4 separate regions of the Homo sapiens genome follow, and all the other regions are linked to region 1. Evidence: promoter capture Hi-C in 16 types of primary human blood cells and fetal thymus (Javierre and others, 2016). All regions are on one chromosome and are shown on one strand. Each heading gives the region's core, a stretch centred on a gene start or on the middle of the fragment in contact. The rest is flanking DNA. Distances are from core to core; before and after follow the strand shown. Region 1 holds the start of CYB5A (cytochrome b5 type A). Region 2 overlaps ZNF407 (zinc finger protein 407). Region 3 holds the start of LOC124904324 (a long non-coding RNA gene). Region 4 overlaps CNDP1 (carnosine dipeptidase 1).

What was found. The method cuts DNA at HindIII sites, captures the fragments that hold promoters and counts their contacts. A CHiCAGO score of 5 or more calls a contact.
Region 2: a fragment that was not itself captured here is called in contact with the fragment with the promoter of CYB5A in region 1 in 1 of 17 cell types (naive CD8 T cells); the score reaches 5.0 in naive CD8 T cells.
Region 3: a contact is called between a fragment that was not itself captured here and the fragment with the promoter of CYB5A in region 1, in 2 of 17 cell types (monocytes and activated CD4 T cells). The highest score is 6.3, in monocytes.
Region 4: a contact is called between a fragment that was not itself captured here and the fragment with the promoter of CYB5A in region 1, in 1 of 17 cell types (naive CD8 T cells). The highest score is 7.9, in naive CD8 T cells.

What each region holds. Positions count from the first base shown.
Region 1 is chr18:74,288,822-74,296,216 of GRCh38, forward strand. It overlaps CYB5A (cytochrome b5 type A), which reads right to left and starts at 3,142. Exons shown (of 5, transcript NM_148923.4): 1 at 2,926-3,142. The coding sequence starts at 3,054. RefSeq lists enhancers at 1,721-2,328, 2,934-3,103, 3,183-3,352, 3,642-3,701, 4,061-4,230. The HindIII fragment of the contact is 14,442 bases long and covers 1-7,395 here.
Region 2 is chr18:74,598,663-74,606,057 of GRCh38, forward strand. All of the region lies in intron 1 of ZNF407 (zinc finger protein 407), which reads left to right. Among named protein-coding and RNA genes, the nearest start is that of ZNF407, 4.5 kb to the left of the region's middle. RefSeq lists an enhancer at 1-203. The HindIII fragment of the contact is 3,707 bases long and covers 1,954-5,660 here.
Region 3 is chr18:74,579,457-74,586,851 of GRCh38, forward strand. It overlaps CNDP1 (carnosine dipeptidase 1), which reads left to right. Exons shown (of 12, transcript NM_032649.6): 10 at 674-815; 11 at 4,105-4,252; 12 at 5,040-7,395. The coding sequence ends at 5,106. LOC124904324 (a long non-coding RNA gene) reads right to left here and starts at 4,221. Exons shown (of 2, transcript XR_007066415.1): 1 at 4,039-4,221; 2 at 908-3,315. The HindIII fragment of the contact is 2,551 bases long and covers 3,204-5,754 here.
Region 4 is chr18:74,566,044-74,573,438 of GRCh38, forward strand. CNDP1 (carnosine dipeptidase 1) reads left to right here. Exons shown (of 12, transcript NM_032649.6): 6 at 1,190-1,390; 7 at 5,143-5,227. Among named protein-coding and RNA genes, the nearest start is that of ZNF407-AS1, 28 kb to the right of the region's middle. The HindIII fragment of the contact is 173 bases long and covers 1,483-1,655 here.

The DNA of each region.
Region 1 (7,395 bases), core at 1,892-4,391:
GCAAGAGATGGTCACAGAAAGTCAAAGCAAATAATAAAGACGGCAAATGGAAAAACACGTCCATAAGAGGTCGAATCGGGAGGTGCCCAGAGGTCAGACACAATCCAGTGAAAGGCTAAGTGGCCTTGCTTGTTCCCAGAACCACATGTTGGCAGACAGTGGAGGCAGAAACGCATGCAGTTCTCGCAATGCCTGAAGATCCCTCCAACCTCTTAAAGTCAACAGGACCAAAACCAAACTAACTCCTTGTGTTTCTCCCAGACCCCAGCCTCCTCACTCACGCCATCCTCCTAGCCGTTCCAGGGGTCAGCCACCCTCTTGTTCATTTTATTTGAGATGCATTCTCCACAAAAACTTTGAGTAAGAAAAAATAAAGAAATTTGTTTTCAGCTAATTTACCCACTCAAGAGCTTGCTCTCATCTCTCAGTTTTTCTCGGAAAATTTTTTGCACAATCCCTCCTTTCCTGACTCACAGGAATGAAATGTGAAAGTAAATAGTTTTGAGTACATTTTAACAATAATCTTCACTTCCCTATTATCGTCTCTGAAAATCTACCCCTAAAGTCATGCACAGTAACCTTAGTAATTCTCAAGTTGGAGAGATTATGTGCCCTAGGGGACCTCTGGCAATATCTGGAGACATTTTGGGTTGCTATAAATAGGGGAGGTAGGGCTGGGAGCAGTGGCTCACGCCTGTAATCCCAGCACTTTGGGAGGCTAAGGTGGGTGGATCACCTGAGATCAGCAGTTCGAGACCAACTTGGCCAACATGTTGAAACCCTGTCTCTATTAAAAATACAAAAATTAGCTGGGCGTGATGGTGTGCGCCTGTAATCCCAGCTACTTGGGAGGCTGAGGCAGGAGAATTGGTTGAACCCAGGAGGCAGAGGTTGCAGTGAGTCGAGATCACACCATTGCACTCCAGCCTGGGCCACAAGAGCAAAACTCTGTCTCAAAAAAAAAAAAAAAAAAAAATAGGGGAGGTGGTGGTACCGGTCATCTAGTGGGTAGAACTCAGGGAGGTGGCTCAATATCCTACAATGCCCAGGACAGACGCCACAACAAAGATCGGCTGGCCCAAAATGTCAACAGTGCCAGGGTTGAAAAAACTCGCTTTAGGAGAAGACAAGAAAAGAAGAAAATGCTTCATAATATAAAATATCCTAATATTCTCTTATGCTACTTCTTCTATAAGCACAAATAGACAAAGCACACACTGTATCTTAAAATTCCACATTTAGAGTTAATGAGAATTGATGTTATATGACAAGATCTGCAGCCGGGCAGGAGGGAGAGGACAGGTCAGCTCTGATTTCCCAACATAAACCCCTCCTTACTAAATGGTAACATGACTTTATCTTCGGGCACTGCTCCAGAGTGAAATACCTTACCAATAAACATCAACTCCAGCCTTATTATTTAATTTTATTTATTTATTTAGAGACAGAGTCTCACTCTGTCCCCCAGGCTGGAGCAAAGTGGTGCGATTTCGGCTCACTGCAACCTCTGCCTCCCAGGTTTAAGGGATTCTCCTGTCTCAGCCTCCCGAGTAGCTGGGACTACAGGCGTGCCCCGCCAGGCCTGGCTAATTTTGGTATTTTGGTTAGAGATGGGGTTTCGCCATGTTGGTCAAGCTGGTCTCGAACTCCTAGACTCAAGTGATCCACCCGCCTCAGCCTCCCAAAGTGCTGGGATTACATGTGTGAGCCACCGTGCTTGGCCCAGCCTCATTTTTTAAAACAGGCCTTTTGATTTTAACATTTTCTGCAAAAACAAAGTCCTCTGATATAAACTGTGATCCAGCTCAGACCAGGCATCTATTTTTGTCCCCTGCTCCCCGACTATGTAAAAAATTCCCATCACTAAACCTTCTCATTATTGGGAGGGGGCGTGAGCATGCGTTAAGATTTATGATTGAGACTCCCCCAAAAGTAGTAAAACACTTCCAGAGGATCTAAGACAATCACCAAAAGCGCCCCTTAGCGTGTGCGGCAAAAATTATAACCGAATGCAAAGAATCTTATCAAAGGAATGTCTTCAAGTTAACCAACGTTTCCTATTACACCTTCCAAAGCTGTTAGGGGCGAGTCCCACGCAGAACGTCCGCTGCTCTGCCTGGCCTCTGTGTTCTTGCTCCAGCCACACACCGCGGTCTCAGGAGTCAAGCACGGCACCTGGCTGCCAAGGCGTGACTGGAAAAGGTTAATTAACACCGAGCCTCTTCCAGGTGAACGCGAACGCGAGTGGGTGTGGACCGCAAGGTCGGCCAGTGGCTGCCGCGGGAAGCGCAGGCCCGGACCACACCCGACCTCCGCACTTGGGGTCCCCTCCGGCGGGATCCGCAGCTCTCGGGGTGGGTGGTCTCCAGCCGGCCACTGCGGGAATGCCGCCGGTCCTGGAAGGACACCCTTCTATTCAAACTCAAGGGAGAAAGGGATCATTTAAATCCCCCGCATGGCTGCGCGCTATCCCCGGAAGGCTGCTCCAGCACCACCTAGCGAGGATGCCGCCGCGCAGGGCGCTCCCAGGTGTGCACGCGCAGGTGTACGGATTCGGGGAGCGCTCCCAGGTGTACACGCGCAGGTGTGCGGACTCAGGGAGCGCTCCCCAGGTGTGCACGCGCAGGTGTGCGGACTCGAGGAGAGCGCCCAGGTGTACACTAGCAGGTGTGCGGACTCGGGGAGCGCTCCCAGGTGTGAGCGCGCAGGTGTGCGGACTTGGGGCGGTGGGGGGCGCCCAGGCTTGCACGCGCAGGTGTGCGGACTCGGAAGCGCGCCCAGGCGTACACGCGCAGGTGAGCGAACTCGGGGGGCGCGCCTAGGCGTAGGTATGCGGACTCCGGGCCGCGAAAGACAGGTCATGCCAGTGAACCCCCAAACCCGGCCCACGCTCCCTGCGCCCCAAGCCGCTCATCCCCAACTCACCTCTTCCAGAAATTTGGTCAAATCGTACACCTTGTGGTGCAGGATCAGCCAGGTGCTCTTGCTGTGGTTGTGCTTCTGAATCTCCTCTAGGGTGTAGTACTTCACGGCCTCGTCCGACTGCTCTGCCATCTCGGTTCGCCGCGAGCCAGGCCCAGCACACACAGCCCCGTCGGGTGGAGCAGAGCGCGCGACTCAGCCAGCTCCACCCGGGACATTCCCCGCGCCGGGAACCCCACTGGGGGCTGGGCGGCCGGCTCAGGGGCGGGGCGCAGTAGAAGGGCCTCCGACGGTTGGCCATCATCCTTGTCACTCAAAAGTCCCCGCCTTCGGTCGACCCCCTCCGCCTGCCCAAGCGTGGTCCCGCCCAGTATGCGGGTGTTAATTGGCTGCCGGAGGTGCCCTTCACAATCTCCCGGCTGCCGCAGCGCGCGGAGAGCGTGACAGGACTCCACGGAGTCTGCGCGGAAGGGCGGGACTAACTGTGGCGAGGGCTGAGGTGGGAGGTCGGGGGCGTCCCCGCGGGTTAAGCGTGCGAGAGAGCGAGGTGCACCAGCGGGCATGGATGGCCTGTGCAGAGTCCAGTCTTGTGAGGGCGGCGAACTAGGCAGCGAATCGCGGGAGTTTCCTATTGGCAGCAGTCCGAGTCCCAGACGTTAATTTGTAACAAAAGTAGCGATGGCCAAGCCCATAAAGGGGGCATCTCGGAAAGCCGTTCGCATGCACGGAAGAGATGAAAGCCCCGTGCGCGCTAGAAAACGGTTTCGCAACTCACTTCGGGAAGCAAATGCGCTGCCCCCCAAAACATAAAGTTGGCGAACTGTGCCTGACCCCGCTGGGGTTTTGGAATGCCTCGTCCTCACAGGAAAAAAATCCAGGGAAATCATCTTTTCCTTAAAAAGCAAAAGTGTCCAAATTATTTCTGTGACTGAAGTAGTTTGTCTGCGGTTGGCCAGTGACATGGCAAGGCCTTGTTTGTGCATTTAAGGTAAATCAGATTCTCTTCTAGGAGTCTGGAAGAGAACTTCCCCAAAGGGCACCCTCTTTCCCTTCTGACACAGAGGAAATACCACATATAAAGAGCTACAAATGTTTGAAGGAGAAAAAAAATAAAGAAAAATTCCAGCATGTTAAAATTTGATATTTTATGTAGGCCCTTTTCAGCAATGGTAGTTAATTCCAAAAAGAACCACACGAGAGGTTTCACATGTGGGGTCATCCATCCTTCCAGGGATGCAGAAGGTTCCTACACATACTAGGTGTCTGATGAATGTGAGCTCCCTTCCCCCTGCTTACCTCCTCCATAGGAATGCATGCCTATCCAGAAAAACACAAAACACACGCATGTCAGGCCTCTGAGCCCAAGCCTGCACATATACATCCAGATGGCCTGAAGCAACTGAAGAATCACAAAAGAAGTGAAAATGCTGAAGCAACTGAAGAATCACAAAAGAAGTGAAAATGGCCGGTTCCTGCCTTAACTGATAAGACAGTCACCTGTCCTCCTGCTCTTTGCTCTGTGAGAAAGATCCACCTACAACCTCGGGTCCTCAGACCAACCAGCTCCAGGAACATCTCACCAATTTTAAATTGGGTAAGCAGCTTCTTTTTACTCTCTTCTCCAACCTCTCTCACTATCTCTCAACCTCTTTCTCCTTTCAATTTTGGCACCACCCTTCAATCTATCCCTTCCCTTAATTTCAGTTCCTTTCCTTTTCTGATAGAGACAGAGGAGATGTGTTTTATCCGTGAACCCAAAACTCCGGCACTGGTCACGGACTCGAGAAGACAGTCTTCCCTTGGTGTTTAATCACTGCAGGGATGCCTGCCTGATTATTCACCCACATTTCAGAGGTGTCTGATCACCACAGGGACACCTGCCTTGATCCTTCACCTTGGTGTCAAGTACCGACCCCCCCTGTGTCTCTGCCCTCTCTTTTCTCTGGGCTTGCCTCCTTCACTATGGGCAACCTTCCACCCTCCATTCCTCCTTCTTCTCCCTTAGCCTGTGTTCTCAAGAACTTAAAACCTCTTCAACTCTCGCCTGACCTAAAACCTAAACACCTTATTTTCTTCTGCAATACCACCTGACCCCAATACAAACTTGACAGTGGTTCCAAATAGCCAGAAAATGGCACTTTCAATTTCTCCACCCTACAAGATCTAGATAATTCTTGTCGTAAAATGGGCAAATGGTCTGAGGTTCCTGACATCCAGGCATTCTTCTACACATCAGTCCCGCCCTAGTCTCTGCTCCCAATGCGACTCATCCCAAATCTTTCTTCTTTCTCTCCTGTGTGTTCCTTCGGTCTCCACCCCAAGCTCTGAGTACTTTGAATCCTCCTTTTCTGTGGAGCCATCTGACCTCTCCCCTGCTCGCCGGGCTGAGCCAGGTCCCAATTCTTCCGCAGCCTCTGTTCCCCCACTCTATAATCCTTCTATCACTTCCCCTCCTCACACCTAGTCCGGCTTATGGTTTTGTTCCTTGACTAGCCCTACCCCACCTGCCCAACAATTTCCTCTTAAAGAGGTGGCTGGAGCTAAAGGCATAGTCAAGGTTGTTGCTCCTGTTTTCTTTATCCGACCTCTCCCAAAACAGTTAGGCTCTTTTTCATCAAATATAAAACCCCAGCCCAGTTCATGGCCCGTTTGGCAACAACCCTTAAACGCCTTACCGCCCTAGACCCAGAGAGGCCAGAAGGCCGTCTTATTCTCAGTATGCATTTTATTACCCAACCCACTCCTGACGTTAGAAAAAGCTCCAAAAATTGGATTCCAGCCCTCAAACCCCACAACAGGACTTAACCTTGCCTTCAAGGTGTACAATAATAGAGAAGAGTGGCAATTACTTGCCTCTGCTGTGAGAGAAACTTCAGCCACATCTCCAGCATACAAGAATTTCAAAACGCCTAAACCGCAGTGGCCAGGCGTTCTTCCAAGACCTCCTACCCCAGGATCTTGCTTCAAGTACTGAAAATGTGGCCACTGGGCCAAGGAATGTCTGCAGCCCGGATTCCTCCTAAGCAATGTCCCATCTGTGCAGGACCCCACTGGAAATTGGACTGTCCAACTCACCTGGCAGCCATTCCTAGAGTTCCTGGAACTCTGGCGCAAGGCTCACTGACTGACTCCTTCCCAGATCTTCTCGGCTTAGTGGCTGAAGACTGACACTGCCCGATCGCCTTGGAAGCCTCCTGGACCATGATAGATGCTTTAGGTAACTCTTACAGTGGAGGATGAGTCCATCCCCTTCTTAATACGGAGGCTATCCACTGCACATTACCTTCTTTTCAAGGGCCTCTTTCCCTTGCCTCCATAACAGTTGTGGGTATTGACGGCCAGGCTTCTAAACCTCTTAAAACTCCCCAATTCTGGTGCCAACTGGGACAGTATTCTTTTATGCGCTCCTTTTTAGTTATTCCCGCCTGCCCAGTTCCCTTATTAGGTCGAGGCATTTTAACTAAATTATCTGCTTCCCTGACTATTCCTAGGCTACAGCCACACCTCATTGTCACCCTTTTTCCCAGTTCAAAGCCTCCTTCACATATTTTCCTTGTATCTCCTCACCTTAATCCACAAGTATGAGACATCTCTACTCCCTCCTTGGCAACTGATCATGCACCCCTTACCATCCCATTAAAACCTAATCACCCTTACCCTGCTCAACACCAATATCCCATCCCACAGCACGCTTTAAAAGAATTAAAGCCTGTTATCACTCACTTGTTACAGCATGGCCTTATAAAGCCTATAAACTCTCCTTACAATTCCCCCATTTTACCCCTCCATAACCCATTCTGTTCTGGATCTCAAACATGCTTTCTTTACTATTCCTTTGCACCTTTCATCCCAGCCTCTCTTCGCTTTCACTTAGACTGACCCTGACACCCATCAGCCTCAGCAACTTACCTGGGCTGTACTGGCGCAAGGCTTCAGGGACAGCCCCCATTACTTCAGTCAAGCCCAAATTTCTTCCTCATCCGTTACCTATCTCGGCATAATTCTTCATAAAAATACATGTGCTCTCCCTGCTAATCATGTCCAGCTAATCTCCCAAACCCCAACCCCTTCTACAAAACAACTCCTTTCCTTCCTAGGCATGGTTAGGTACTTTTGCCTTTAGATACCTGGTTTTGCCATCCTAACGAAACCATTCATTCTCCCCATTTCCCCATATTACCTCTTTCCTGTTCCCCACCCAGACCACGCTTGGTTTATTGATGATAGTTCTTCCAGGCCCAATCGCCAATCACTGGCAAAGGCAGGCTATGCTATAGTGTCTTCCACATCTATCACTGAGGCTACCACTCTGCCCCCCTCCACTACCTCTCAGCAAGCCAAACTCATTGTCTTAACCTGGGCCCTCACTCTTGCAAAGGGACTGCATGTCAATATTTATACTGACTCTAAATATGCCTTCCATATCCCGTACCACCATGCTGTTATATGGGCTGAAAGAGGTTTCCTCACTAC
Region 2 (7,395 bases), core at 2,557-5,056, 310 kb after region 1:
CCATTCCCGACTTCAGCTCGCTTTGCGCCACTGCGGGGAGACCCGCGGCTGCCTGACACCGCTGCGGGCAGCAGTGGGTTTCTCAGTAGATGCTCACCTCTTTCCAGCCAGCTAGCACGCCCTGGGTGCTTGGCCTCCTTCTGGAGTTTAAGCTGGTGGAGGCGGGGTGCAGTGGCCGCTGACCTCTGTCGGTTGCGCTGGGTTTTGAGTAGCCATTTATTTCATTGGGGAGTTTTGGAATAGGACATCCCACATCCGTGGACACACATGTAGAATACTTTTATAAGTAATTACAGTCTTAATAGTGATTTGAGTTACAGCTTTGCAGTCTATGCCTGGTGACATCCTAGTCGTAGTATGTATCTGTTTTGTGGTGAAGTGCTGGTCCATTTAGAACACTGTAGACAGGGGCCCTAACATATACTCATCAGAACCTTATTAAGAAGAGCTTATATGTCATTTGGCATACTCACTGTGCTTCATTTAGTACAGCAATCTTGTGTAGTAGGAATTATTCCCTTTTTACAAACTGAGACTCACTTTGCTATATACAAAATTACTGCTACTGGTACAAGGTAAAGCTTTCTTCTTGCGTGACATGTAAGGCAGGTGTGATAATTGCTCACAACACAGTTGCTACTGGTGCATTTTTTTTTAAACTTTATTTCGGAATAAATTAAGATTTACAGAAAAGTTGCAAACAATAGGACAGTTCCATTGGTACCTTTTAAGCAGAGCAAAGTGGCTCCACTTCAAAAACACTGGTTCTTGCTTTATGCCAAACACCCTTCTAGGTGTTGGAAATAGTAATATACTTCCCTAGAGGATTTTGAGATCTGGTTGAATAGACACATAAATAAATATATATAATACCTTTTTCTGCTTACTAAAATAGAGATGTGGGAGCACAGTGGAAGTTACGGCTGATTGATGGTGGGGAGTGGTGAAAGCTTCTTGCAGGATATGTGATTTGAGATAGGTCTCAAGGACTAGTGGGTATTCACCTGGTTGAAGGGACATTTTCCCCAACATTCATTCCGATTAGGTTTGTTTTATTAGAGTAGAACTCGCTAATCTTAATAAAATATACTCTCCTAGTTTGATTCTTCTCTTTCTCATCTCCTTTAAGAAGGTGGTTTGTATCCCAGATAGTGAGAAGAAGCCTAGTTTCTAAATCTATGAATAGGCGAATAAATTAAGCTGTATGTTTCTAATTGATAGTTGTGACTCTTTCGACTGTAGTTGAGATTGGTTTTTTAGGAATGCACTGTGGTCCTCCACTGAGCGTTTTCCTTGCTTTCCAACTCTGATGACTAGTGGAATTAAGTAATGCATTCAGGAAACATTTACCGCATGCTTGCTTTGTGCCAGCCATTGCACTAGAGTAAAATGATGAACAAGATAGTGGGGAATATAGACAAGCAAATGCGCATTGGCAGTGCAGTCTGATGGCCTGCCCACAGAGTGTCACAGTGCCATTCATGATTCTTGGTTGTCAACCATGGCAATGGACTTGGCTGACTTAAGCAGAAAAGGAATTTATTGGAAGGCTATAGATGGCTTTCAGAATTGATGGGAAGGCTGGGGAACTGGATTCAGAAAATAGGCAGCAACCAAAAGAGGCTGGCTGGCTGGGGCCACATCCAAGGCAATATCACGTAAATAGCCTGCCTAGAATTTTGTTGCTGGTGACATTGCCACTGGAGAAACTGCCACCTCTGTTGCTGGACTGTTGACTCTCTTCTACCACTGAAAAATCTCTTATTGCTCCTGCATCTTTGTGACCTTTTTTGCCAAGCCACTGTAGTTGTCAGGGAGCAGAGAGATGGAGAGAGATGGTCTTTATCCCTCGCAAAGACCCACACCTCAAAGGAGTCCTACTAAATAGAAGGAAGCTTGGGCTGTGGGTAGCCCTAAAAGCAAAAATGTCCAGCATAACCACTGAACCTGGCAAGCTTAAAGAGGTTAGGGAGGAATACCAAGAGGGAATGGCGACCAGAGAATGAACAGGAACTCACTGGGCAAAGAGATAAAGAGCGGTTAGGGAATCCAGTTTTGGATAGAAGACTTCCAAGCGTCAAAAGGTAATGTGGAACATTTCAAGAATTAAAAGGTGTTTAGGATGGCTGGATCACGGAGTATAAGAGGAGGTGTGGAAAATAAGGCTGGAGAGGCCCTCTTGAAGAAATGTAGGCAGCATAGTGACATGTACACCCTTTTGCTTGTTTTAAGCACTTTGATTGCAACTACGGAGACCAGTTGGCATGGTGTAAGGCTAGGGGACAGGGATCTTTTAGAGGCTGTTGCATTTATAGTAGGTTAGACATCACAGAAGTCTGAACTAGGATAGTGGCCCAGAGGTAGGGGAAGTGAGTGGATTGTACATGCTCAGTTAGTGGAGTGGATTCGGGGATGGAGTAGGTGAGATGGACAAGTCAAGGTGGACACTGATGTGTCTGCTTCGGGTGACTGGGTGGAGCCTGGTGTTCCCTGTGTGGTGATGGAAGGTGAGCAGTTGCCCCAGTAAGATACTTCAGTGTGGGCTCATTTCTGTGAACACGTTGAGTGGGCAGTTGTATGGATGAGTCTGCAATCCCAGAGGACCACCAGCATCTCACTGCAGCCTTGGTTCCTTCAGTTAGTTGTGTGTGTGTGTGTGTGTATGTCTGTGTGTGTGTGTGTGTGTGTGTGTGTGTGTGTGTCCTTCACAAGATTATGGCAAGACCGGCCTTCATGTGTATGCATCCCAAGTCTCTTGGCATGATGTCTTACTCATAGAAGGGGGTGTTAGGCCATTCTTGCATTGCCTAAAATGGAGAGATAGCCAAGGCTGGGTAATATACAAAGAAAAGAGGTTTCACTGGCTCGCGGTTCTGCAGGCTCTACAGGAAGTGTGGCACTGGCATCTGCTGGGCTTCTGGTGAAGCCTCAGGAAGCTCTCCATCATGGCAGAAGGCAAACGGGGAGCTTGCATATCCCATGGCAAGAGCAGGAGCGAGAGAGTGGGGAGGTGCTATGCACTTTTAAATAGCCAGGTCACATGGGAACTCACTCACCATCTCAGGACAGCACCAAGCCATTCAGGAGGGACACCCCCGCCATAATTCAATCACTGCCCACCAGGCCCTACCTCCAACATTGGGGACTACATTTCAGCCTGAGATTTGGAGGGGATGCACATCCAAACTGTTTCGAGGGGAATCAGTAAATATTGTGGAATTTAATGGAGTATGAGTCATTTGGAGCAGAAAGGAAGTACAAAACATGTCCCTATACAATATATGCATACATATCTGTATACATAGCTACACCTACATATGTATCTTGCTTGCATCACTAGTGAGGGATCCACATCTGTATATATTTTTTGTAGTGGAAAGGCTTTTTGTTCTTATCAGTGTTGTCTTGTGACTAGAACATCTCCTTATGGTAATTATATGGGTAGATCATAATTGTACTAACTCCCTGCTTACTTGATTATCTTGCAATTCCAACTACCTGGAATAAAACCCAGAAATAGCCTTGCAAGAAGTTGATGGCGGTGTAGGAGTGTAAAGGAATTACAGCCTCCCTAAATAAAGTAAAATCTAGAACTTCTAGAATTGAGCACTGAAGGGAGAACCTTTTGCGGGAGAAGGTAGAGAGAGATGATGGTCTCCAACATTGTCTTCTTTAAGTGTCATTTTTCCTTTAGAGGATTATTGCTTTTATTCATACAGTAGTTTCCAGATATAATAATCCTGGTTTAACAGTTTGCTTCTCGAGTATAGCTGAGAAAACTGGACGTTTTCAAAGTATTAAGTACTTAGGGACAGTAAAAGGCAAATAAACATAGAATTCAGTGGTGGTAACAATAATAATGTTTTTGAGCTCTTTATATAAACACTGTGCCAGGTGCCTCTGTACATAATCTCATTTAATTCCCCCAAATCTTTTGAGGTATATACTACATTTTATTGATTTATGGGACACTCAAATTTAGGATAAATAGCTTGTGCAAGGCGACACAGCTATTAAATGGTAGAGCCAGGATTTGAACCAAGATGGTCTGACTTCCGAACCCCTATTTTTAGTCACTAAGTTACATTACCTTCTACAGTATTTTAGCATTGATTCATTCAACATTTTTTTTAGCTCCTCTTATGTCCAGTGTAGTCTGTGAGTTAGTAGAGATCCAGAAGGGTAGGATAAACACATTGCCCTGGTCCTGCTGGGAAACACATCCTGCACTGTGTGTGTGTGAGGGGAGTTGGGGGCAGGGAAAATGCCTCAGGGGGACTCCTACACTGACCCCTGAGCATGCCCAGGTGTGTGGGGACAGGGCATTCAGGAGAGAGCTGAGGCTCCCAGGCAGCCCGGCAGATCATGGGGCAGTGTAGCATTTGGAAGCAGGGGCCAAACTGCGAAGGGTCTTGAAGGCTGAGGTAATACTTGAAGAGTTTATTGTAAGGGCATTGGGGAGCCAGTAATAGGTTCATGCATTTGGTCATGTCTTAGCATTTATTTAAAGAAAGTTTTGAGTCCTGTAGCACTCACTGTGCTGCACAGATGCTATGAGAGTTGATGATAAGGAATCTTGCTTTAATTTGGAAGAAGGTTTAGGGAGACTTCTCAGAGGAAAGGAAGTCCCCCCTGCCCTTCAGTTATTTATTTAGTTGTTTACAATTGAAAAACCAATGCATGCACACAACGAAAAATTGCAAATAGTACAGTGATGCCTCAGACTCTAGGGCTGCTCTCCAGAGACAATCACTATTAACAGTTTCTTGAGTTTGAAAGTGCCCATTCTTTTAATGTGAGCAAAGCAAATGACAACAGTATCTTCTCTCTATGAAGCAGTTCTGACAGTAAAGCCCAACCATGTAAGGCAGGCCACGTAATCAGTACCTGAAAGGCACCTTTCATAAATTCTGTACCGAGGAAGTAGCTTAGGCTTAGGTCTCCTAGAAGCTCAGTCTGTTGGTGAGACACCATTGACGCCTGTGAAACAATAGATTCATTCCACATCTTTCTTTATTCTTAAGCATTTTTGTTTTTTTGGTAGTTGTTGGTTTTTGTTTTAACATTCAAGCACTGGAGAGAATAAGTTCTCCCTGATTTCAGGCACTTTTCCATAGGTAACCACTGTTAAGTAATTTCAGACTGAACAGGATGTCTTGATGAGCTTCCAGTGTTACCTCAACTATGTAATATTTTCTATTATGGATATATTAGCTTATTTAAACATTATCTTATTAGTGGACATTAAGGATTTCTGGCTTGGGTGATTTGATGGGTTGTAAAGCTATTTACTGCCATAAAGAACAAAGGAAAAAGGAGTAAGTTTGTGGGGGAAGTTGATGAGTGCATGTAACATCCAAATGGACTTAGGGGTCTGGTACCTACAGAGCTGTTGGCTAGAGATAAAAATTTAGGCATCATCATTAGTGGATGGGAATGAAAACCATGGAAGTTCACTTGGTCACTAAGGAAGAGGTGGATGAAGAGATAAGAGAGGTCACCTCCTCACAAAGTACAAGGTTTGATTCCATTGTAGCTCCTTTGCTTCTTGGGATTCAGGGAATTCCATGAAGTTCTTTAGATGGGTCCTTGCCTAGTTTTTCTCCTTGTTAGCTTTTGGTTTGCATCCGTGTGGCAAGTTCCCTTCTCCCTATCCCAGAAGCTTCCTCATGTGCATTTTGATCCTTTGCTTGTCTGCTATGTCCACCAGGGGTCTTAGGTTTAACTCACACTTCCCAGACCTCCATAGGCCACACTTGAACAGTCTGTGAAGAAGGGGAAGAACAAGAGCCACAGCTTGCCAGCCCAAAGTGTCAGATCTTCTCTCAGGGGTGGTCCTTGCAATTGTCTACACAGCTGTGCAGACACTGTCTTTCCAGGTGGCTGCTTCAGTGCAGGGACATGAGAGCCACATCATGGATGTAGACACAGCCTTATCTTTGAAATCTCATGCCCCATAGGGAGCAAGTGTTTTTGAACATTCCATAGGCTTAGCTTCTAGGATCCTTGGCAGAGGATAATAAATAAACACAGAATTCAATGGAAGTAACAATAATAATGTTTTTGAGTTCTTTATATAAACACTGTGCCAGATGCCTCTGTACATACATCATGTAATCCCCCCAAATCTTTTGAGGTATATACTACATTTTATTCATTTATGGGACACTCACCATGTGTAAGAGTCCTTGCATCCCAAGGGCACCCGAAGCATGGTGTCCCCATCAGATATTTATAGTTCATGCATAGTTCATCAAAGTCTGGATGCAGTTTACCAGTTGGGCCATTCTTACAGTAAGCAGTTTCGCTTAGTGGCATAGTTGACATTCTTACCCTTATTAGGTTACCAGAGGGAACAGAGCCAGATGGTTTAACTAACAGTCTAATTTTCATGTATCAGGGAAAGGGTTTTGTTAACCTTTTCACTCACCGTTTGCCACACCAAGAAAGAAATGGAGTGCATTCTCTTGATATTTGGGGTCTGCCTTCCCGGGGCCATTTCTAGGGTAAGAGACATTCCGGCGGTGACTTCAGTCTTGAAGAGCACCTCCTTCACCCCCAGCTACTTAGTGAGGTCTCCAGTCCATTTCCTAATCTTATAAGGACTGGGAAGCATGGGCCTTGCATCTGCTGTCTGCAGCTCCTAGCTGTGTGACTTCAGGTAAGTCTCTTCATCTCTCTGAGCCTCAGTAACTTCACTATGAAATGCGTATTATCTTGTAGCTTTTGTGTGAGTGCTAATTGGTGGAATGTGGATAAGTCTTCATCCAGGAGCTGACAAAGCCAGCCCTCACTCTGTTATAGCTGTTATCCAGCAGTGGTCAGAACAGTACTGCCCATGCCATGAATTAAGCACATAGCATAATACGGAGTTTGAAAAAAATAAAAAATTAAAAAATCAAAAAATCATAGGAAGTTTGTTTCCTCATACATAGCAGTTAAGGTTTTCTGTCCAGCACAGCAGTTGTTACCCTGAATCGTCAAGAAAATATGAAATTATATTCTATATACATGTTAAGAAAGTAGGGAATTATATAACTTTTTATAGGATTTCTATGAAAACCACATTTTTTTAAACTTAAAAAATTAACTTTATTATGAACCCAGTAAGATATAATTGTGGGACACACATTGGTATACTAGAAAGGTACGTCATTAACTAGCCAAACCAGCAAAAACCCAGCCCACGTCTGTGTGTGTTAGTGTTGGACTAGTGTGACAAGCAAGGAGATTCTAGTTCCTGGACCGTCGGTGGAGACTGCGGTCCTTGGGTTCTTCATCAGAGCTTTTCCTGACTTCCTAAGCCCGATGAAATTACCTGCAGAATAATATGTTTCTGTGAACTTTTGGAGAGGAAAGAGGCCATGGTTTCACGCCAAAGCGCCCTAACCCTTC
Region 3 (7,395 bases), core at 3,229-5,728, 290 kb after region 1:
AGGGCCTTCCTTGTCTTGTTCACAGCTGTATCCGCAGCACCTAGAACAGTCTCTGGGACATGACACGTGTTCTATAAATGTGTGTTGAAGTAATTAATGGAAGAAATTTGAATATGGCACCTCCCCGGGAGACTCTCAACAGTAACAATGAAAAAAGAGCAGGAGGGGAGAGAACGAGGCTGAAATGAGGCTCTCCATAGTTGAGCCTGGAGTTGCTCCCACGTCTTGGAAATTTCCCAAATACTTAATGCTTCCAAATCATTCACAGGGTACTGAGGAGTCCAAAAAGAGGACGATTCAAAAGAGAAGTCCTGCTGTGTTAGGCTTCATCACTTTCAACAAGTGATGCTCCAGCACCTCTGTGTGTGTGAGATGCTGTGGTTGGAAGGGGGTGGGCCGGGGCCAGGAATGCAGGGTAGAGGATAGAGGGGAATCTCCCTCTGGGTACAGCTCAGGGTTTCCTGCTGTCAGCACTGAAGAAGGATCTCACTCTCGCCCTCTGGCAGAGTGAAGGGAAAATCACAACACTTGCGTGTGTCAGGCTGGGGCTTCAGTTTCTTGATGGAAGAGGCTATATTAACTGTACTAATCAGTTTCTTGATGGAAGACTATATTAACTGTATGAGAGAATAACTTGACACTTTCTCTTATCATTGAAAATGTCACCTTTTAGGTGACACGACATCTTGAAGATGTGTTCTCCAAAAGAAATAGTTCCAACAAGATGGTTGTTTCCATGACTCTAGGACTACACCCGTGGATTGCAAATATTGATGACACCCAGTATCTCGCAGCAAAAAGAGCGATCAGAACAGGTGGGACCTTAAGATCTTCTGACTGGCCAATCTGCACTGGGACTCAGGGGTGGTACCCGTGGGACCGTGGGTAAAGCAGACACTTTTAAAACTCAGAAATCAACTCTCCTTTTAATACAGAGCACATTGTTGAATGCATGCCATGTGCAGGGCACGCTATACACGCCATCTCAAGTCATCCTCCCAATGGCCTTCCCCATCTAACAGAGGAATAAATGCAGGCTTACAGACATGAAGTATTTTGCCAAAGGGTGCCCAGCTCACAAGGGGCAAAGCCTGTGTTCAAATTTAAGTCTGGAGACCTGAATTTTGAAGAAAATGATGGACTAGAAAATCTTCAACCCCCTCCCCCTGAATACAAACTCATAGAAATGTTGGCCAACATGTAAAAACATCCTTTCAAAACACAGATTAGCCCAGGTGTGATGGCTCAAGCTTATAATCCCAGCAGTTTGGGAGGCAGAGGCAGGAGGATCGCGTGAGCTCAGGAGTTCAAGACCAGCCTGGGCAATATGGTGAGACCCCCATCTCTATAAAAAATATAAAAATTAGCTGGGCGTGGTGGCACATGCCTGTAGTGCCAGCTACTCAGGAGGCTGAGGCAGAAGCATGGCTTGAGCCCAGGAGGTTGAGGCTGCAGCAAGCTATGATCATGCCACTGCCCTCCAGCCTGGGGGACAGAGTGAGACCCTGTCTCAAAAAATGAAAAACAAAAAATACAGCTTAGCTTGTATGACATCAGAGGAAATCCTTCAGGGTTGAAAATGAAGGAGAAGCTAAATTCTAGGGGAGTAAATAAGCAGACCCTGGGCTGGCCGGCAGGGATCTGCTCTTCCTGGTCACAAAGAGACTGGGGCTTTAATGGCCTTGGGCCAGAGTGAGGCAGGAAGTTGAAAATGAGACCCATTATATACAGGCAGGGCATCCCCGGAGAGCCACACCTATCCTGTGTGTGTGTGTGTGTGTGTGTGTGTGTGTGTGTGTGTGTGTGTAAGCTTGACTGCCTTTGCTTGGACGTTGGACGGACACAAGGTCTCCCCTGAGAATTTTTAACCATGGACCCTTGCTCCTGTGGGTTTGGGTGTTTAATTTTACCTAGTGTGTGGTCTGGTTCTCACTAGTGCCATGGCTGGACTGCCTGCTGATGCAAGCACAGCATTGCCCAGGAGGACACAGCCCCCAGGCAGGCCAAGGAGATTCCACAGGAGCTTCCTGGAGATGAGCTCACTGTACACAATTGCAAAACACATGAGAAACCCAGTTCTGGTGTTTCTGACCCTCAAGCCAGTGGTCTCTTCACAATGCCACATTGCTTCCCCAGAAGGCAGCACAGCTCTATTTGGAACTTCTTTGGTGGTGCCTGTTTTAATTCCATGCACTTCAAGGTCCTGGGTAGAGCCATGTGCTGGGCTGAGCAGAGGGCGTGTACTTGGGTGCTGGCTGTGGCGTCAGGGAGCAGGGACACCCAGTCTTTTTGGCTTCTGCACCAGGAGGGGGACCCTGCCAACAATAGCAGAATGGGGGCTCTTCCCAAAGCAGGGGGTTCTAGGTCTCTCCCAAAGCTAGGTGGAAAAGCAGTGGCATGCATTTAGGTAGACCTATGGCATCCTATTACAGATGAGGCCTGAGGCCACATTGGCTAATGGTGGCAAAGCCAGAAAGGGAAGCCCAGATCTCTTTGAAGCACTAACTCTCTCTCAGGGTTATCAGTACAAGGGACACAGACACGGAAAACTACAGATCAAGTCCAAGACAGGGAGCCATGCTTCTTTCCATCACCATTCCTGCTGCCCCCAACCTTAGCAGGTATTTCGCCAGTAAACTTTAGGATTGAAGAAATGTAATGGCAGCTGAAGAGAGGTGTGTGTTTGAAATACCCAGGTTGACAACAATAAATAGGTCTGAAATAGCCTTTCAGGAATGCATAAGACACCTTTCGGTCTATTTGTGTGCTAAACTGGTTCTGCGAACGAGGCACATCACTTCGATTCACGTCCACATCTTTCTTTGTGAATAAAGAAGAGGTGGCATGTTCTCTCTGGTTTCTTTGTTTCATTTTTCATCCCACTCCATCACTGGCAGCATGTCCGGTAAGCTAGAAGGTTTGAACTCATCTCTTTCTAAAACCTACGATAGCAGTTAAAACTATTTTGTGCAATACTTTGAAAATTGCTAGAAACACTGTGACATTTGAGCGATAGTACAGCTATTGGCATATCTGTCACCAAAAAACCCAAAGAAGTCCCACTTCCATAATATTTAATTCATGAAGAAACAATATAGGGACATTGTCTTGTGTCGTGCCAAAAATGCATGACCTCTTGCAATCACAAGATAACATCAGACAAACCCAGAGTGAGGGATATTTTACAAAACTACCGACTGATAAGCTTCAAGATGGTCAAGGTCATGAAAGACAAGGAAATACTGAGAAACGTCTGCAGCATACAAGAAACTAAGAAGCAATAATAAAAATGCAGTGTGGATTCTGGATCAGATCCTGGAAGGGAAAAAGGGAAAGACCGGTGAAATTGAAAGTCTGGAGTGTAGTTAACAACATTGCACCGTTGTCAGTTTCCTTGTTTTGATCATTTTGCAATAGTTACATAAGACGTTCATATCAGGGAAAGCAGAGTAAGAGATAGATGGGAGCTCTCTCTCTACTATTTTTGCAACTTTTCTAAATTCTACACTTTTCTAAAATTAGTTCAAAATAAAATTTTTATTTACAATTGTATTTATTTATTTATTTAGAGACAGAGTCTCGCTCTGTCACCCGGGCCTGAGTGCAGTTGCAAGATCTCGGCTCACCGCAACCTCCATCACCCACGTTCAAGCGATTCTCCTGCCTCAGCCTCCTGAGTAGCTGGGATTACAGGCATATACCACCATGCCCAGCTAATTTTTGTATTTTTAGTAGAGACGGGGTTTCACCATGTTGGCCAGGCTGGTCTCAAACTCCTGACCTCAAGTGATCCGCACACCTCAGCCTCCCAAAGTGCTGGGATTACAGGCATGAGCCACTGCACCTGGCTCTAAAATCTTTTTTAAAGTAGGTAATTGTGAAGAAGACATCCATAGTTTTCTTCTTGACTCTAGTGTCTATCTTAGAATATAATTGCATGATATCAAGGGGCTTCCTTACCCCAAAGCACCAAATCTAATGGTAAAAAAAGAAAGATTAACAAGGAAAAAGAGAGAGGAAGGTAAAGGAGGCACTGACCTTGAGGAGCTTCCTGGGGGTGTTCTTGTCCTTACCCTATTCAAATGCCTTCTTTTCCTGTCTCAGTGTTTGGAACAGAACCAGATATGATCCGGGATGGATCCACCATTCCAATTGCCAAAATGTTCCAGGAGATCGTCCACAAGAGCGTGGTGCTAATTCCGCTGGGAGCTGTTGATGATGGAGAACATTCGCAGAATGAGAAAATCAACAGGTCAGCTGATGCCTGTGCAATGTGCCTCTCTCTTCTTCCTTTACTGCACACACCCGGGTCTACACGTGGGTGAGCTCCTGTTCAATTTATGTGAGAATGGAAAATCGTCCAGACTGGGAGCTTAAAGAACAGACATTCATTCCTCACAGTTCTGGAGCCTGGATGCCCTAGATCAGGTGCCAGGCCATTTGGTTCCTGGTGGGTATGGGCTGTCTTCCTGGCCGTCCCTGCGATGGTGGGGTTAGGTGGTTCTGGTGTCTCTCTTTTTATAAGAGCACCAGACCCATTGGATTAGGACCCCCATTTTAACCTCATTTAACCTTTATTATCTCCTCCAGGCCCTGTCTCCAAATACAGACACACTGGGGGGTTAGGGGTTCAACACAGGACTTTGAGGAAACACAAATATTTAGTGCATAACAAAAAAGGCTATTAGGAATGTTTGCTTTATGCGCTACTGGCAGATACTACAAGATCTCCTAAGCATCCCAGACTACTGAGAAACAAGAAATTGTTTGACCCTGATATCCATATCAGTGATAAGAAATCAAGGAAAATTCACTTTTGGATTTGAGTCTAGGACTGATTCTCATCTTCTTAATAATAATAATGCAATTTTCACATGGAACTTACTAAGTGCTTTTCATACTGGGATCTCAGAAGTATGTTAAATAATTTAAATGGAATTTATAACATCAAATCTTCCTGTCTAAATGACAGAATATTTTTCCTCCTTCATTTGAATGGAAATTGTAACAAAATTTCTCTTTGTTTTTCCTCTTCTTAGGTGGAACTACATAGAGGGAACCAAATTATTTGCTGCCTTTTTCTTAGAGATGGCCCAGCTCCATTAATCACAAGAACCTTCTAGTCTGATCTGATCCACTGACAGATTCACCTCCCCCACATCCCTAGACAGGGATGGAATGTAAATATCCAGAGAATTTGGGTCTAGTATAGTACATTTTCCCTTCCATTTAAAATGTCTTGGGATATCTGGATCAGTAATAAAATATTTCAAAGGCACAGATGTTGGAAATGGTTTAAGGTCCCCCACTGCACACCTTCCTCAAGTCATAGCTGCTTGCAGCAACTTGATTTCCCCAAGTCCTGTGCAATAGCCCCAGGATTGGATTCCTTCAAACCTTTTAGCATATCTCCAACCTTGCAATTTGATTGGCATAATCACTCCAGTTTGCTTTCTAGGTCCTCAAGTGCTCGTGACACATAATCATTCCATCCAATGATCGCCTTTGCTTTACCACTCTTTCCTTTTATCTTATTAATAAAAATGTTGGTCTCCACCACTGACTACAATGATTTCCCCATGGATTCATTTTCAGAGGAGTTACTAAGGCATGGTACTATATTAACCTCTTGCCTCCCCTTCATTTATTTTTTCCCACTTCTTGAAAAGTTCCGAAGCTGAAATGATCAATATTCATACCCATATGCCATTTGGGAGTCCTTGTGCAAAGATGAGTATTTTTTTTTTTATTCCAAGCTTCTTTACCTTTCCTGAGATCGATGCCACCTTGTCAGCTTCTCTGCCTCCCGTTCCTTCTTCCTGTCCCATCAGAAAAGGCCCACTCTCTCTCTATCCAACATCTGTGCACAGGTTGCACCAGAGCAGAATTTATCCTGATAGAATTTCTCTCACCCCATTGAAGTTTTACTCAATGACAACATCTAAATTGCTCAAAGCTTTTAATAGCATCAGTTTTAGATAGAGAACTAATCAACCCTGACATCAGTAACACACGCTAAATTTAAAGCCATCAGCTAATGCTGCATTCATTAATCATTTTAGTTAACCATCATGTTTGGCTTGATTGGATTTGACGGTGTAAACAACAAAAAAAGACAGTCATTTTTCTACAGTTGAGTGTATATAAACAAAATCAATCTTTATGAATTTATTATTTAAATCACATTAATGGAGAATCATTTAGGGGCTTATTAAAATTTTTTTCTATTATGACTCCAAATAAAAACAAAGCAGAGGGCCAGGCGCGGTGGCTCATGCCCATAATCCCAGCACTTTCGGAGGCCGAGGTGGGCGGATCACCTGAGGTCGGGAGTTCGAGATCAGCCTGGCTAACATGGTGAAACCCTGTCTCTACTGAATATACAAAATTAACTGGGCATGGTGGTGCATGCCTGTAGTCCCAGCTACTCGGGAGGCTGAGGCAGGAGAATCGCTTGAACCCAGGAGGCGGAAGTTGCAGTGAACTGGGATCATGCCACTGCACTCCAGCCTGGGCGACAGAGTGAGACTCCGTCTCCAAAAAAAAAAAAAAAAAAAAAAAAAGCAGAACACATTTGCGTTCAACTTTTTTCCATCACTCTGTTGGTTCTTGAGATGTCAGTGTCAGTTTAAAAACGTGCTGTACCACCTTTAAAAGGACTGGAGCAGGCAGGCAGTGATTCAGTTCACCTTGACTCTAGTCATAGAAGTGGACCCAACTGAGAGCTCAACCTAGTTGTGGGCATTTGTGAAGGATTCCAGTTAGTGTTTTCTTTGGAAGCAGGAGGCTTCAAGCCATCACATCTCCAATTCTATAGAATATCAAGTCATCGTTAAAGAACAGCAGCAGGTGTTTGATATTTTGTGCTATTAAGTGTAGTTTGCGCTCATCTAATTATGCAGAGTTTCGTGGTGTTTCTCGATTTTGTTGAACCTACCTGATGCATTTGGCACTGTAGATAAGGACTAACAGTAAGAGAGATTTAGAGTCTTCATGTTAGTCCATTAACATAAGTTTATTATAAAATACACTGTAAGCATTTCTGGCTAATGTACCATCAGATTTAAGAAGTTACCCAACAATATGTATTCGCTGATCTTCATTCCTGCTGAATCTGAGACCAGCAGTGTCTCAATTATTACGTTGCTGCCAGGAGAGAAGGGGAGGAGAATGAATAGTTATGGAAGTTGTAGAATCTAGGATATTCCAACCCTGGATTGCCAGAGTTCAGAGTCCATGTTTTTCTGTCACCCAGGGTCACGACTGGTCTCCCCAGCTCTTCCCTCCTGTTTTTCCACCCAATTCTAAGCCCTGTGGTGATCCAGACCCTACCCTGACGTGGGAGTCAGAAAGGAGTATCTTCCAAGCTCCTTGTACTCAAAGGGATAAAAGAAA
Region 4 (7,395 bases), core at 319-2,818, 280 kb after region 1:
GCTGCCAGGGCTTGGGGCTTCCACCCTCTGAAGCCACAGCCCGAGCTGTACATTGGCCCCTTTTAGCTACAGCTGGGGAAGCTGGCACACAGGGCACCAAGTCTCTAGGCTGTACACAATACAGGGACCCTGGGCCTGGCCCATGAAACCATTTTCTCCTCCTGGGCCTCCAGGCCTGTGATGGGTGGGGCTGCCGTGAAGGTCTCTGACATGACCTGGAGACATTTTCCCAGTGGTCTTGGGGATTAACATTAGGCTCCTTACTACTTATGCAAATTTCTGCAGCTGGCTTGAATTTCTCCCCAGAAAATGGGTTTTTCTTTTCTATCACATAGTCAGGCTGCAAATTTTCTGAACTCTTAAGGTCTGTTTCCCTTTAAAAACTGAATCCCTTTAACAGTACCCAAGTCACCTCTTGAATGCTTTGTTGCTTTGACATTTCTTTTACCAGATACCCTAAATCATCTCTCTCAAGTTCAAAGTTCCACAAATCTCTGGGGCAGGGGCAAAATGCCATGAGTCTCTTTGCTAAAACAAAACAAGAGTCACCTTTTCTCCAGTTCCAAAAAAGTTCCACATCTCTACCTGAGGCCACCTCAGCCTGGATTTTATTGTCCATATTGCTATCAGCATTTTGGGCAAAGCCATTCAATAAGTCTCTAGGAAGTTCCAAACTTTCCACATTTTTGTGTCTTCTTCTGAGCCCTTCAGACTGTTCCAGTCTCTGCCTGTTACCCAGTTCCAAAGTTGCTTCCAAATTTTTGGGTATCTTTTCAGCAACAACCCACTCTACTGGTACCAATTTACTGTATTAGTCCATTTTCATGCTGTTGATAAAGACATACCCAAGACTGGGAAGAAAAAGAGGTTTAATAGGACTTACAGTTCCACATGGCTGGGGAGGCCTCAGAATCACGACAGGAGGCAAAAGGCACTTCTTAGGTGGTGGCAGCAAGAGAAAATGCGGAAGAAGCAAACCCCTGATAAACCCATCAGATCTCATGAGACTTACTCACTATCACGAGAATAGCACAGGAAAGACTGGCCCCCATGATTCAATTACCTCCCCCTGGGTCCCTCCACAACACGTGGGAATTCTGGGAGATACAATTCAAGTTGAGATTTGGTGGGGACACAGCCAAACCACATCAGGCAACTTGTGCAATTTTTTTCTTCTGTTGTTACTTAGGATCTTCCTGTGAATATCAAATTCATCATTGAGGGGATGGAAGAGGCTGGCTCTGTTGCCCTGGAGGAACTTGTGGAAAAAGAAAAGGACCGATTCTTCTCTGGTGTGGACTACATTGTAATTTCAGATAACCTGTGGATCAGCCAAAGGAAGCCAGCAATCACTTACGGAACCCGGGGGAACAGCTACTTCATGGTGGAGGTATCCACAGAGAGCAGTGCATGGATGGAGGCCTGTGGGGGTTGTGAATGGGAGCACCAATCCATTCTGGGATCTTGGAGAGGAAGAAAGAAAGCTTTCCTGAGGGCAGAGGCCTTACCTGGGACACACGGCCTCAGGGGAGGTGGGGTGGGTGCAGAGGTCTTGGGGTTTGGGGAGGTCATGAACCCCCAACACTTGGAGTGGATGTGGCTATGTACCTTGTTCTGGAGAGGGGATTCACAGGGGTTTGTGACTTACAAAGCAAAGCTTGGAAACTCTGGCCATGGGATTTGCAGGCAGGTATGGCAGCCACAGGGAGGTAAGCAGACTGCGCGATCAATGCAGGGGCAACTGTGCTGTGTCCTGCTCCCAGCGTGGGCCTGCTGGCCACAGTGGCAGGAGACCCCAGTGCCGTGGTCACAGGGAAAGAGAAGGAACATTGGTGTCGCCCGAGGCCAGCATCTGAATCCTAGCTTCTACCATGCCCAGCCTTGTGCAGGTGGTTTCACCTTGAGCCTTGGTTTCCCACCTTGAAAGATGGTACAATAACGCCCCCTCCCAGGATGACTGTGTCATTACATGCAGCCTTTAGTTGAGGTTTGACGCATAATCAGTTTCCTTCCCCTTTTCTCTTTTTCTAGTAATACAGGCAATCTGTGATAGTGCATAAGACATAGAAAGTCCCTCCCGGGTAAATAGCTAATTATTTCATCATTTCAATCTGTTTTCTCATATAACAACGTGTAGGCTGATAATCCATGCTGTATCCAATCCCTAGGCAGTTTTGAGATTCAGATGTCAGCACATACACGGAAACACACATGGCTATGCGTGTGAAAAACAGTGAGTGCCTTCTATTTGTCAGATAGGAGGATGCTAAGTCCCAGGGGTATAGGACTGAATAAAATAGTCTCTGCCCTCAGGAAGTTTACTTCTAGTGAGACACAGATACTAAAGAGATGTGGGAGTGACAGAGAAAATAGGAAGCAGGGACTGTCCTCTAGAACCCGCTTTCAAGAAACATGGCTGTGAAAAGTGGGAGACAGCTGGGATGATGGCTAGAGGAAGCCCTTGGGAGGCAATAGACAGAGGGAGCAGTTGGAGACCTGGGAGGGAGGGGGAGAATTTTTGAGAACGAAGGCACTGAGGAGGTGGGAGGGGGCGAGCTCCAGACCCAGGGGAAGAAAATAACCTCTTCTGTGAGGGCTTTGGGTAGGTAGAGAGCTCCAAGTCCTAGAGCTTTTTCCCTCTTAGCGTCCATTTTTTTCTGTTTAGTAGGAAGTGAGTGTATCTGCAGAGAAGTGATGGCTTGAAGTGGTCACTTTGGGACAGGGGGAAGAGAAGGGATGGGAGGATGAAGAAGGGCCAGGCAGTGGTAAGGTCTGGAGTCATCTGTCCATGCAAATTGCTGGCTTTCTGCAGCATGCTCAGTGGCCAGGGACAGAGAAGGCTGGCCCAGGGGTTGAGGTTACCCCAGAGGGTTGTGGTGGAGAAAGTAGGGAAGAGCTCATCAAGGTGTTGAGCACAGAGGGGCTGAGGTGATCAACGGTGGTATTCAGGTTGAACAGGGGAAAAAACAAAGGCAGGAGGGCAATGTGGGACATCTTGGAAGGGTCAAGGGACTGACGTCTTAATGAAGACCGAGAACAGGTGGTACAGCAACGTTACAAGAGAGGACAAGGGGAGCTGTCATCAGAATGTGAGACAGCCAGCTCAAGCTTTCGAAGTGAGACCGTCCACACTCCAGAGTAATTTAGCTAGCATTATTGCCTAGTGAACGGAAAGTCTTAATGCTAAAGTGACCATACCGAAGATTGCTCTGGTGCCACATTGAAGATGAAGAGGAACAGAGAAAGACCAGCTGGGCAGGAAGGATGGGAGGGAATGAACTGAAGAATCAACTTCAAAAAAGCCCAACCTGTAGAAATTGGTAATTGATTGGATATGGCGTATATAGGAGAAATCATGCTGGTAGGAAGTAATTGCAGAAGAGATTGAGTTTGGGTCTAGATCTCCTGAGTTTTGGAAACTGGAAGCATGCTCAAGTGGAAGGCACCGTAAGCATTCCAGAGTTTTAGGTCTGGTGTTTAAGTAGAAGGTCAGACCTCCAGGGATGAACATTGAAGGGCATGGTTGTATTAATAGCATCTCTGCCCTTAAATTAGCGTGAGCACCGCATGGTCAGAGATAACCAGGTCCACACATGTTTGTGTCATTCCACAATGTCAGGCTTTTACTGATGCTATCTCAATAATAAAAGCCATGGGCTCCATGGAGTTCCCAAGGAGGCAATTCTCCTTAGTGCCTCCCATTCATTCAGAAGTCAGAGCGCAGGCACACAGGCTCAAGCTACTCCACAAGGCAGTCAGTATTGTAAAGCATACATTGTGGTATACCTAGCCAATATGTGAATGTTATAGACTGAACATTCCACAACAAACAAAGTAACATTTACCATCAAGAGAGAAGGAGCTGGGCACAGTGGCTCATGCCTGTAATCCTAGCACTTTGCGAGGCTGAGGCGGGTGGATCACCTGAAGTCAGGAGTTCAAGACCAGCCTGCCCAACATGGTGAAACCCTGTCTTTATGAAGAAAATACAAAAAAAAAAAAAAAAAAAGCTGGGCATGGTGGCGTGCACCTGTAGTCCCAGCTACTTGGGAGGCTGAGGCAGAAGAATTGCTTGAAGCTGGGAGGCGGAGATTGCAGTGAGCTGAGATCATGTCACTGCACTCCTGCCTGGGTGACAGAGCAAGACTCTGTCTCAAAATAATAATAATAATAATTAATAATAATAATAATAAATAATTAAAAAAAAAGAAAAGAAAAGTGATAGGAAAACAGGTTAATGAACCAGTCCAGGGAGAGTGACGTAGACAAAAAGAAATCCTGGCTTGGCCCGGGTGGTCCAGTGGTCTTGTAAGGAAGAGACTTTGATCTGGGCAGAGCCTTTGGTGGCAGATGCTGGGCGCTTAGCACAAGTGACAGCAGGACAGTGTCTGTTAAGTTTTGAGCTGCTGACATCCTGGTCGTTTTATGACTGCCAAGTCCTCTGATAAGAACTGATAGTGGAAGAATGTGTTTGGCTATGTCCTTATCCAGCTGGAAGCAGTCTTTATTGATCAGGCAGAACATCTAGTCCCTGTTGGCAAAGTCCCTTAGGAAAAGTAAGATGGAGTCTTTTTCTAAGATGGAGTCACTTATGTCAAGGGTGCCATATACATAGACACTATCCTGTGAGCTCTTGAAGCTCAGGTAGAGGAAGGATGAGCCAAGTATTAAGCTTTAGAGGTGGAGGAAGAAGAGATGTTATTACAGGAGGTATCAATAGAATTGTCCTGCAGGTAAGAAAAGAAGAAAGAGAAGAAAGCTTCTCAGAAATCAAGGGAAGAGAATTTTTCCAGAAAGAGGAGTGATCAACAATATGGGATGAAACCAAAAGGAAGACAGCTGTGTAAACATCAATCATTTGGCCAAGGAGAGCCTGGTGATCTTGGCTAGAATAGAGTTGGTGGAAGAGCTGAGGAATGAGTCAGTTTCAGGGGATTCAAGAGATGGTGGGAATGAAGCAATCGACAGCAGGTAGGAAATCCAGTCCCCATGACTGAGAAACACAGAAAGTGAAGTCAGGTCTGGATGTTGCCTACCTGAGTTCTGAGGGACACACGCAGATATGTATTTCACCATGTGAAATGCTTACACTAAAGGAACCAAGGCAGGAAGTATATCTCTTACCTTTTATCTACTCTGCAGGTGAAATGCAGAGACCAGGATTTTCACTCAGGAACCTTTGGTGGCATCCTTCATGAACCAATGGCTGATCTGGTTGCTCTTCTCGGTAATGCCTTATTTTGTTTCACTTTTTAAGCATCAGGGATCAACTAAAAGACAGCTCTACTTGATTTTATGTGCCTCTCCTTGCTTTCTGAACCAGCTCTGAACAAGGGTGTAGATGCTTAGATTTTCCTCCCCTTGGCAAACTGTTCCCTCCACTTATAAGTAAGTCTGCATTATTTCTTTTCATGGACTGAAACTCTTCTTCAGTTCATCCATTTTGTTTTATTGGACATTGTGACACATAGCCATACTTAAGGACAAGAGGGCAGAGACTCAAAGGATACAAAAGACTGACAGGCCACCCTGACTCCCTTACTGGTGCTCCTAGAATGCCGGGCCGGGTGGAGGTGTGGTATTCCCAAGCAGCTGAACCACAAGTTCAACTTCAGTAGACCTGGCATGACTTTTTGACTGAAGATAAATCAACAAAGGGATGATCAAAAGGGAAAGGAACTAAGCGACACACCAGGTGAGGCCCTTCACCCACTTTCTCAAGAGCATCTTGTTTTTCACGACAGACTGGCCCTTCCGCAGACCAGCCTGCACCTTGTAGCATGTGGGTTCTGGGTGTGGGTGACCAGGTATGTCCTTGCTCTGCCACAGACCACCTGTACGACCTTGGTAAGTTACTTGAGTTCTCTAGTCTTTGGTTTCTCATTTGTAAAGGGGCACAATCGTCTGTTCACCTAGTATTGCTTTTAGGATGCAAAAAGGTGATGTGTGCAGAACGCTTGTCACGGTGGCTGGAATGCAGCATGTCCATCAGTGAGTAATGGCCTGCCCTGGCCTGACTCCAGAAATGGTGTCAAATATGTCAGCACCACTTGGCTTCATTTTTCAAGGTTGCTGTGGCCCCGAGTGGCACAGCGACGCCGACGAGTTCCCCGATTGTCCTGGTGCTGTCCTTGATTTCCCATGGATTGCTGGTGTGTGCAAGAGGAAGTTGTATGTTTTTCTCGGGGAGCCTGTTTGCTCAGGCTCAATTCACCTACAGCTCTTCTAGGCATCAGAGCTGCCCATAGTGGGTTCCCTGGGAAGCTAAGGAAGTTTAAACTCCAGGGGCCTCACTTACAGGAGCTCCTTCCACAGTCCTGGAAGGGACACTCATCATTTTATATTCATAATTTGGTGTTCTTTTAAAAAAGAGGTTCACACATTACCTATGCTTTAGACCCTGCAACACCTCGCTGTGCTCCACTTGGCATGTATAGCTCCTTTATGCAAATTTCACAACATGGCCAGGCATGGTCACTCACGCCTGCAATCCCAGCACTTTGGGAGGCCAAGGTGGGTGGATCAGTTGAGCTCAGGACTTTGAGACCAGCCTGGGCAACATGGTGAAACCCTGTCTGTACAAAAAATACAAAAGTTAGCCAGGCATGATGGTGTAGGCCTGTAGTCCCAGCTATTTAAGGGGCTGAGGCAGGAGGGTCGCTTGAGCCCGGAAGGCAGAGGTTGCAGTGAGCTGAGATAATCGTGCCACTGTACTGCAGCCTGGGCAAAAGAACAAGACCCTGTATCAAAAAAAAAAAAAAAAAAAAAGAAAGAAAGAAAGAAAGAAAAATAATAGAAAAAGCAAAAAAAAAATGTTTAATAATGTGCCCCTTTTGGGCAGACAAATTGCCAGAAAGCATTTACTCCCTTGGCCTCAGTAGTCCAGGCCATGGTACAATCAGCCCAGATGGCCCAGGTGTTGGGAGGATCTTCTCAAGGTCTTCAGCATCATTTTTAGTTGCACAGCTTTCTCCTTCATTCTCCCAAACTGAATAATGAAATTTACCTATATTTCTACCATCTATCTAGCTATCCATCTATCCATCTATTATCTATCCATCTATCTTTCTATTCATCCATCCAACTATCCATCCATCCATCTATTATCTATCCATCTATCATCTTTCTATGCATCTATCCATCCATTATCTATCTATCCATCTACCTATCATCTATCCATCCATCCATCCAACTATCTGTCTATCCATCCATTATCTATCCATCTATCATCTTTCTATCCATCCATCCATCTATCCATTCATCCATCTATTATCTATCCATGTATCATTTTTCTATCCATCCATCCATTCATTATCTATCCATCTATCATCTTTCTATCCATTCATCCATCCATCTATCCACCCATTATCATCTATCCATCCATCCAACTATCTA